3 separate regions of the Homo sapiens genome follow, and all the other regions are linked to region 3. Evidence: promoter capture Hi-C in human tissues and cell types (Jung and others, 2019). All regions are on one chromosome and are shown on one strand. Each heading gives the region's core, a stretch centred on a gene start or on the middle of the fragment in contact. The rest is flanking DNA. Distances are from core to core; before and after follow the strand shown.

Region 1 (2,944 bases), core at 182-2,681, 260 kb after region 3:
ATGTATAAGTATTTGGAATTTCATGGGTTTATCATGGGATTAAGAGGATAAACATGCCCAAAGACAAGGGGATATAGTCAGAACTCTGAAGGATACTCAAAAGAGCGGGAATGGGTTTCTGTGGATAAAGAGATAGGGGAAAAAAGTGGTAATTAGTGCTGGATCCTGGATTACTTCACCTACCCTTTAGAAAGGCTCAAAAGCCATCTTCTCAATGATTGTTTTTTCTTTGTAACTAACATAAAAGATCTTGCCATTTAGTGCCAATCCCAAGCAAAACTGTGGAGCCTTTTACCTTTGGCATTTTCACATCCATCTGCCAAGAACTGCCCACTTACTTCTTGATCTTTCTGCCTTCAAAAAAGGACTCAGTAAACTCCCAATTTATGATGAAGGTTTACTGTCATTTACAGTCCAAATGGGAACACAATGTATTTTAACAGGTAACAGAACCTTTATAGCTAAAGGAATGAATCTCCTTAACTGAAATTTCAGGAGTTATTTGGAGACGAGATTCTTTTTTTCTGAGGGATACAGAAATCTTCTCAGCTGCCCTAAAATTTTCTCATGTAAGCAACTGCCTGCTGTATCCCCAAGGCTGGTCCCAGCACTCTTAGCAAAATGATGGACCCCGAATACCATATAACTCCATTTTTATTTGCTTTGTTGTACTATTAAAGAGTTTATTTCCAAAGTATGAAGTAGGTTATGAAAGATTTCTATTTTTCTATGTAGCGAAATAAGAATTAAAAAACATATTTGAGAAGTAGTAATAATATTCTTTTGTGTGTGTGTGTGTGTGTGTGTGTATGTGAGAGAGAGAGAGAGAGAGAGAGAGAGAGACAGAGAAAGAGACAGGGTCTTGCTCTGTTGCCCAGGCTGGAGTGCAGTGGCATGACCACAGCTCACTGCAGCCTCAACTTCCCAGACTCAAGCCATCCTCCCACCTTAGCCTCCTGAGTGGCTGGGATTACAGGCATGCGCCACCAGGCCCAGCTAATTTTTTGATTTTTTTGTAGAGATGAGGTCTCAATATGTTGCCCAGCCTGGTATCAAACTCCTGGGCTCAAACGATCCTCTTGCCTTGGCCTCCAAAACTGTTGGGATTACAGGCGTGAGCCACCCCACCCGGCCAACAATATTCTTTGTTACACAGCCTAAAAATTGCCTAGTTTTTTTGTTCCTTTAATTCAATTTGAGAGAAAAATTTAAACAGTCTTCCTAATAGCCAGAATGATAAAAATCTGAGGCATTTGGTATAATATTTATAGGTCATTGTATTTATTATGTGTTAATAAATTTCAAAGATAGAAAAAAAGAAAGAGAGCCAACTACTTTTTCATGAAAATTCAAAGGAAAGCTGGCCCATGAATATTTATCTTTTAAAAGTGTTCTCTACTTTTAACTGTTTTCCTCTTTATGATCCAAGATAAACAACTGATAAAATTAATTTGGAAGGACATCACTAAGCACACACATGCCTATTATAATTTTTTCTGTCAATGAGAATATTTAATATGTCACCTTTATTTGTGAACTATTACTACGTAGCTTTCCTATAGTGACATTCTAGAGACATACTCTGAGAGAAAAGTATTTAAAGAAAGATATCTTTCAGAAGTTCTAATGAAATAGTACTGTTAAGAGAACAACAAAAAAATTAGTGAAGTCTCTTAGACTGCTAACTATATGATGCTTTGGGGAATTCGGAATTAAGTCAGAAAATCTTGAAAAACAGAAGTCTTAAGAAGAAACAATGATTTATACTTAATTTCATTTTCACTTTTTCTGATGGCTAGAGTTCTTATTCCACTTGGGCTTAAAAATAATTTTTGATTACAAAGGTGACAAAACACCAGAGGCATAAGATAAAGGCAAGAAATTTTCTGAAAGAAACCTAGGGTTCATGCGATTCTCCTGCCTCAGCCTCTACAGTAGCTGGGATTACAGGTGCACGCCACCATACTCGGCTAAATTTTGTATTTTTAGTAGAGTTGGGGTTTCGCCACGTTGGCCAGGCTGGTCTCAAACTCCTGGCCTCGAGTGATCTGCCCACCTTGGCCTCCGAAAGTGCTGGGATTGCAGGCGTGAACGCACTGTGCCCAGCCACAGGATACCAACTTCTGCCCAGATAACAGAATGTTTTAAACAGGAGGGCTGATCAGCTTTCCATTATTTTTTGCAAAGCAGTATTAATACAATATCATGTCATTTTGTGAGTGACAGGTAAGAAGAAAAACTGCTGAGTATATGAACATTTGTTCTCTGTTACATTTTAAGCTAGAAATCAACAAAATCACCATATTAAATGAGAAGTGGTCTCATTGGCTCCCCAAAAATCTTTCAGTGACTGTGAATGGCCAGGTCCTGAAGCCGTATAAGAGTAAGAAAAGTTAAAGGCTCACCATCCTCTTCGTTCTGCCAGGCCTCTCCACAGAGAATCTGTCCTGACCATTCTCTCGATAAGCTTCTTCCACAGCATGCCATCAGAGGTCACTCGGTACCATTCCTTGCACACAAGTTCAGCAGCACATAGTGATTTGGCATCCAGGTATGACAGAATGTTCTCAGCAATATGATCCAATCCCCGAGCTTTCAGTAGGGGGAGGAGGCAAAGAAAAAGAACACAGAAGGTGGCGAATGATTTTTTACAAAAGGTCCTTTAAAACAGAACAGCATTTGTTCTGCTATGAAGGCACATCATTGTCCCTAGTGTGGTCCAGTTTCTTTTTCAAACAGAGGCTTGGGTAAAATGAGTGTCAATAATTTTTCCATAAGGTTACAGAAATGAACAGTATTTTCCATCTTCCTTTAGATAAGGAAGTTAAAGCTAACAACCAGCAAACCCCCCAAGACATTAAAAATAAAAAGGATTCCAGAAAACAATTCACATCTATCTATATGGATTTCAGCACTAGGGGATGTTCTATGGATGGCATCTCAA
Region 2 (3,037 bases), core at 486-2,985, 440 kb after region 3:
CCATCTGAAGGTTTAACTGGGGCTGGAGGATCTCCTTCCAATATGGCTCACTCATGTGGCTGGCAATTTGGGGGTGACTGATCGCAGAATACTTTATTTCCTTGTCATGTGAACCTCTCCATAGGGCTGCTTATGGGACCTCACAACATGGTGGCTAATTTTTCCCAGACTAAGGCAGAAGCCCCAGTACCTTGTATAACCTAGCCTTGGGCGTCACCTTCCATCATTTCTGTAATATCTTATGGAACCAGGGTTCTTTTACAGGTAGTCTAACTCCAGATCTTAAATGCAGTGACAGTTTTTTATTTATTAACACATGTATCCAAAGCAGGAATTCATGTCTAAACAAACAAAAAGAGTATTCACCTTGGTTATAAAGATATACTTCATATATTTGCTACATATGTTTCCCAGGTTGGGAGATTAATCAGTTTTTAGTCTTCAGTGCTGACAAAGCTATCTTTCCCTTGCTTTCTGTGCCTGGATTTCTTAGACACTTTTTGACCAACATTGTTTAACATACTTTATTTTGTATAGTTTAGTCAAAGTTTGAACAGGTTGTTTTATCTTTAACTGGCATTTGTCCAGACTCCCCCACTACCATGTCTTCAAGCTGGTGATTTCCTTTATCTGGCTGCTTTAATTTCCCAGACATTTACATCGTCTGCAGCTATATTTCGTTGGATACCCCTTCCCTCCTAAAAAATGCCTTTTGAGGAAGAGGTGATCGAGGTCAGGATTACTTCTAAGAGTCAGTGTTAAAAACTCACTATTTTCCTTGTGTCTATCACTCTGCAGATAAGAGATGGGCCTTGCCTTCAAGAAGCTTTCCATTATGTGAAGGAAACAAGACATAAAAATAGATACTAACTAGGGCTCTTTTGACAATAGTATGGATTTGTATCAGTCACAGTCCTGGCATATGTAGACTTGATTAATTTCAGAAGGGTTTAATTAAGGACCTATTTGCAAAGGTGTGGACAGAGTGAAGGGAGACCAACAAGGGCTAGTGCATACCCCTCAGCTAGCAACAGCAGACAACCATATTACTCCTAGGCCCCAAGGGCCAAGGGAAGGGCATAGTTACCAAGACCCTGAGAAGGTGGCTGTGGGGAAAGGACCACTTGACCATAGCTATGGCATTCAAAAAGGGATGTAGCCCTTTCATGGCAGCCCAGCAGGGAGGGATCTGGAAGAATCATATACCAGCATCCTCCTGCTCTTTAATCTTCTGATATCTCCTTTTGGTTAAACACAAACAGAAGCCAGAGGACAAGAGAGCCTTTGATGCAGTCCATTTGTGTTCATCTCCCAGGTCCAGAGAGGGCTGGGAAAGGATGGAGAGTGCCTCTAGAAAGGCAAAAGGAAGAGTTTAGCATGGGACTGGTTTGGGGGTGGATGAGAGCTGGCAGCTGGACAGAACTTCAGGGCAGGGCAGGTCATTGAGGGAGGCCCCAGAAGCAGGTACCAGGAAAAAAATCAAGGGGGGCTTTCAGTGGGAAGGATCTTTGATGACAAGCAAATTAGTAGGCAGAGAGAAATCCAGATAGCCAGGCTATAACCCCAGGAGGTCTGGGAGCAGGTTGGGGCAGGAAGTGGGGAAAAGGCAGGACTTTCTTATCAGAGAATTGCCTCTTAAATTAAATGCAATGTCATTCATGCATCAAGAAACATATTTTGAGAGGAACAACCCTGAGAAGGGGCAGCAAAGGGAAGGAGAGAACCAGGGCAGCTGTCCAAAGAGGTCTGGACTCCCACCCCAGACTATTTGTCTTCATGGGACTCTCCTATGAATGTCCCCTTTATAGGCACCTGGATATTAGGAACCCATAACTATCTTTTTCTTACTGGCCCAAAAAAACCATTTGACTTGGTTTGTCCTTATCGCAACTAAGATAGGCTATTTTTTAAAATTTTTAAATAAATGATTGATTGCTTGTTTATTCATTATGTACGTTTCTCTCTCTCTCTCTCTCGTTTTAGAGGCAGGGTCTCACTATGTTGCCCAGGCTGGTCTTGAACTCCTAGGCTCAAGTGATTCTCCCACCTCAGTCTCCTAAGTAGCTATGCCACTGCACCCAACTGGCTTTTTTTTTTTTTTTAAGATAGAGTCTTACTCTGTCGCCCAGCCTGGTATGATCTCGGCTGACTGCAACCTCCACTTCCCGGGTTCAAGTGATTCTCCTGCCTCAGCCTCCTGAGTAGGGATTACAGGTACCACCACGCCTGGCTAATTTTTTTTTTTTTGTATTTTTAGTAGAGATGAGGTTCCACCATGTTGGCTAGGCTAGTCTCAAACTCCTGATCTCAAGTGATCCAACTGCCTTGGCCTCCCAAAGTGCTGGGATTACAGGCGTGAGCCACCATGCTTGCCTGAACTGGCTATTTTTTTTAAAGCACCTTAATTCAGAATAACAAAACAACCAGGAAAAAGAAAACAACTAAAATTAAACACACACACACACACACACACACACACACACACACACACACACACAGAAAAGGAAAAAAGGCATGGAAGAATATGGATGTGTGTATTTATTTATTTATTTTTATTTTATTTTTGAGACAGGGTCTCACTTTGTCACCAGGCTGGAGTACAGTGGTGCCATCTTGGCTCACTGCAGCCTCGACCTCCCAGGTTCAAGGGATCCTCCTGCCTCAGCCCCCAAGTAGCTGGGACTGCAGGTGCTGACCACCACACCCAGCTAATTTTGTATTTTTAGTAGAAACGGGGTTTCACCGTGTTGCCCAGGCTGGTGTCGAACTCCTGAGCTCAAGCGATCCACCCCCCTTGGCATCCCAAAGTGCTAGGATTACAGGCGTGAGCCACGGTGCCCGGCCAGGGTATGTATATTTAACTTTGAATTTAACATTCAAACATATAAAAAAGTAAAGAGAATAATACAATAAATTTCCTTTTACTCATTACCCAGCTTCAAAAATACTGACTTATAGTCAGTTTTGTTTTGTGTGTGCCCTTACCCACTTCTTTCACCCTTTTCTGGCTCATATGGATGCAAATGTCTGGTATCAT
Region 3 (3,277 bases), core at 51-2,550:
TGTTTGGAGGATTTCAGAGTTAACCTCATGGAATTCAGGATTTTTTAGCAAGTTTGCTTTTGGTTTTATCTTGGCTTTTAGTAATCATGTTGGCTGGTCTGGTCACAGGTGACTGTGAAACAGATGCCCTGGTCTTGCTTTCATCACTCTAGGATCATGAAGTGCTATGCTATTTCCTGGTTATGAATATTAAGGTTGGAATTACATTTTTATTGATTGTTTGGATCAGAGCTCAGTTCCTGTAGAAAACGAACTGTAAAAGACCATGCAAGAGGCAAAATAAAACTTGAAGTGAATGCTTGTCGTGTTGTATTGTGTGAATCTATTTCCTGTCTGCCCCCTCCCTTTTCTCCTCTTTCATGCCTCACCTACAAGCAGGTATTCTCTCCTCTCCACAGCTGTTCCAAGTTAGAGATTGGATCTTGAAGGCAGCCCTCCCCTACCTCCATCACCAGTAAGACTTCCAGATTTTCATTAAGACAAGAGCTAAGAAAAGTAGACTAGTTTTTAGCCAAGCCACCCCACCCTCTTGCCACAGTTATAACCTGGATGTGAAATAGGGCCTCTAGTTTGAGTTTTGCCATCTATTAGGATAGAAAGCACACAGTTTGCCTGATTCTTAAAAGGCGAAAGATGGCGCGAGTAGCATAAACTGACAAAATAATCCACGGCGCAAAGATACTCCTGGATGATTTGGAATTAAAAGCTCAAAAAGCGTGGGTGGGCCAGGAACAGCCAACACACATGAGCTAACTAGTCCTCTGCTAGCAAGTGCCAGCAGCTAAGTCTCAGTGAAGGCATAGCAAGTTGCGGGGTCTTTAGAGCAGGAAGAATTAAGAGAGGCTTAGCCGAGAGGACAGACAGGACAGACGTGTTGGGATGGAAATTCCTAAGGCTCCTCGGCTCTCTTGAGGCAAAGACAATCTGAGTGCATTTCCTTTGCTTGTAGCAGAAAAGCACTGCCCTGAACCCCACCTTTGCTGGGAGGAGTAAGAAGGGTTTACATTTTTATATCTATAACTCCTTTAACGAAAGCTTACCCTGGGTTGGAAGAGTGGGAGACACTCTTCCGACACAGAGCGAGGAGCTTGGGGAAGTGGACACCCTCATGGTCGTGGAAATGAGCAAGGATGTTAACATAAACCCCAAATCCATTCTTCTGTGATGTTACTTCCTTTCTCTTCGGTCTTGATAAAATATGAGCAGAAGCTGCGGGCTCCGGGTAGGGCTGCGGGGTCTCGGCGCCTTTTCTTTTCCAGGACTGTGCGTCTCCTTTAATGGGCGGGGCCGGAACTGGCCGAGGGTCCCCGGCTTTGTGCGTGTCGGGGGCGGAGTTTGAAGAAGGCTCTTACAGCATGGCCGCCGGTACTGCAGCTGCCTTAGCGTTTTTGAGTCAGGAGAGCCGAACGCGGGCCGGGGGTGTCGGGGGCCTACGGGTCCCGGCCCCGGTCACTATGGACAGTTTTTTCTTCGGTATTAGTGAAGGGAGAGGCTGAGGGTGGTACTGGGGCGGTAAGAGGTAGGGATGTGAGGCGGGAATGCGGAGGGTTTCAAGGCGTGGGTGTGGGCGGAGGGCTGCTTCGCTGTTCCCGCAGGAGAGGGGGCCTCGCACGCACAGCCAAAGGGGGTGGCGAGATCCCTGCCCCAGATGTGTTGGGCGGGGCCCACGGCAGAGCGTCCCAGGTGTTCTGAGAGAAGAGACGGAGGTGGACGTGTAAATGACCCGTCCGCCCAAGGTTACACGTGACGGCGGGTTGGTGACATCCCCCGCTGCCCAGCCCCGTACACACGCTCAGGCATACTCACTGTTATTTCTACCAGGCTGTGAGCTCTCCGGCCACACCCGCTCCTTCACCTTTAAGGTAGAGGAAGAGGATGATGCGGAGCACGTGCTGGCACTAACCATGGTGAGGGGCAGGGGAGTGGGGTTTTAATGAATAAGCCCAGGCAGGCAATATAGGTCTCTACCCAACCTCCGGATCCCCTTTACTTGGAGACACATCCTCAGCCTAACCCCCCGGCATGGGCGGCTCCCCTGGCCAGGTGAACCGGGACCTCTGAGGCTGGGCAGGTGCTAGGGTAGATGCCTTTAGTTGTGGTGTCAACCCTCACTTGAGGAGACCCTGAGGCCCTGTGTACCGTTCCCAGCTCTGCCTCACCGAGGGAGCCAAAGACGAGTGTAATGTGGTAGAAGTTGTGGCCCGGAACCATGACCATCAGGAGATCGCAGTCCCTGTGGCCAACCTCAAGCTGTCCTGCCAACCCATGGTGAGTTCCCCAGCTCTGCCTTGGTGGTGGTGGTGGTGGTGGTGAGGGGATTGAGGACGTTAGCACTCATTACAGTGTGGGGTGGGCTAGGAGTGGGCCAGGCCTTCATCCTTGTCTTCCTCCCAGCTCAGTCTGGATGACTTCCAGCTCCAACCACCTGTAACCTTCCGCCTGAAGTCGGGCTCTGGCCCTGTGCGGATCACTGGGCGGCACCAGATTGGTGAGAAGAGGGGAGGGCCCTCTCCTTTGCTTCCAGTGGACTCTCCCATCAGGCTTCCCCCACTCCGCACTCCTGCCCCATCCCACCCTCATCTCCCAGTGCAGCCCTGTACAGGTCTGTGTGCCCTCCACGCTGTGCCCTGTGCATGACATGCCCTCTCCTTTCCGTCTACTCAAGCCTACCTCCTCCATGGAACATGGCCCAACTTCTCCAGCTCCAATAATGAAGACTCCTTTGGCTCTTTGTGACCCAGTTTAGGGTCTGAGGTTCTTCCCACCTAGCCCATAAGCACTGGGAGGTCATGGTCCCTGTAAGCCTAACACCACGGCGTGAAGAAATGGCATGCGGTGTGAAACGGTCTGGTCTTAACACCCCATCCTTCTACTGCTTGTGTGTCCACCAGTTACGATGAGCAATGATGTTTCTGAGGAGGAGAGCGAGGAAGAGGAAGAGGACAGTGATGAGGAAGAAGTTGAGCTGTGCCCCATCCTTCCTGCCAAAAAGCAGGGGGGCAGGCCCTAGCCCTCCTAGGTGAGTTGCGGGGAGAAGTGCCTAGCAGGCTCTGGGAAGGGGCAGGAGAAGCAGGTGAGGGCCTAAATGCTGATTCCTTGTTTCCTCTTTTCAGGTCAGCTCCATGTGCCATGCACCGCCATGCACCCTGTTCCCTGACAAGTTTCAACAATTGTAAATATTTCTTCCTTGAAGAGGAGAGCTTGGGTGGGGGTTGGGTGGGAGGGACTTGGGTCTTTGGTGCTAGGAGAGGGCCTGTGCTCCACACAGCCGTGGTTT

Evidence for each region. The method cuts DNA at HindIII sites, captures the fragments that hold promoters and counts their contacts. A contact is called where the count stands out against the background at its distance.
Region 1: a contact is called between a fragment that was not itself captured here and the fragment with the promoter of NPM3 in region 3, in 1 of the 25 tissues and cell types used here (neural progenitor cells).
Region 2: a fragment that was not itself captured here is called in contact with the fragment with the promoter of NPM3 in region 3 in 1 of the 25 tissues and cell types used here (lymphoblastoid cells).

What each region holds. Positions count from the first base shown.
Region 1 is chr10:101,525,661-101,528,604 of GRCh38, reverse strand. It overlaps BTRC (beta-transducin repeat containing E3 ubiquitin protein ligase), which reads right to left. Exons shown (of 15, transcript NM_033637.4): 6 at 2,406-2,592. Among named protein-coding and RNA genes, the nearest start is that of POLL, 61 kb to the left of the region's middle. The HindIII fragment of the contact is 3,858 bases long and covers 1-2,944 here.
Region 2 is chr10:101,340,245-101,343,281 of GRCh38, reverse strand. No RefSeq gene overlaps it. Among named protein-coding and RNA genes, the nearest start is that of BTRC, 12 kb to the left of the region's middle. The HindIII fragment of the contact is 3,205 bases long and covers 133-3,037 here.
Region 3 is chr10:101,781,469-101,784,745 of GRCh38, reverse strand. It overlaps NPM3 (nucleophosmin/nucleoplasmin 3), which reads left to right and starts at 1,300. Exons shown (of 6, transcript NM_006993.3): 1 at 1,300-1,473; 2 at 1,822-1,907; 3 at 2,149-2,268; 4 at 2,395-2,488; 5 at 2,892-3,019; 6 at 3,114-3,277. The coding sequence starts at 1,356. The coding sequence ends at 3,010. It overlaps OGA (O-GlcNAcase), which reads left to right. Exons shown (of 16, transcript NM_012215.5): 16 at 1-296. RefSeq lists an enhancer at 1,733-2,372. The HindIII fragment of the contact is 4,177 bases long and covers 263-3,277 here.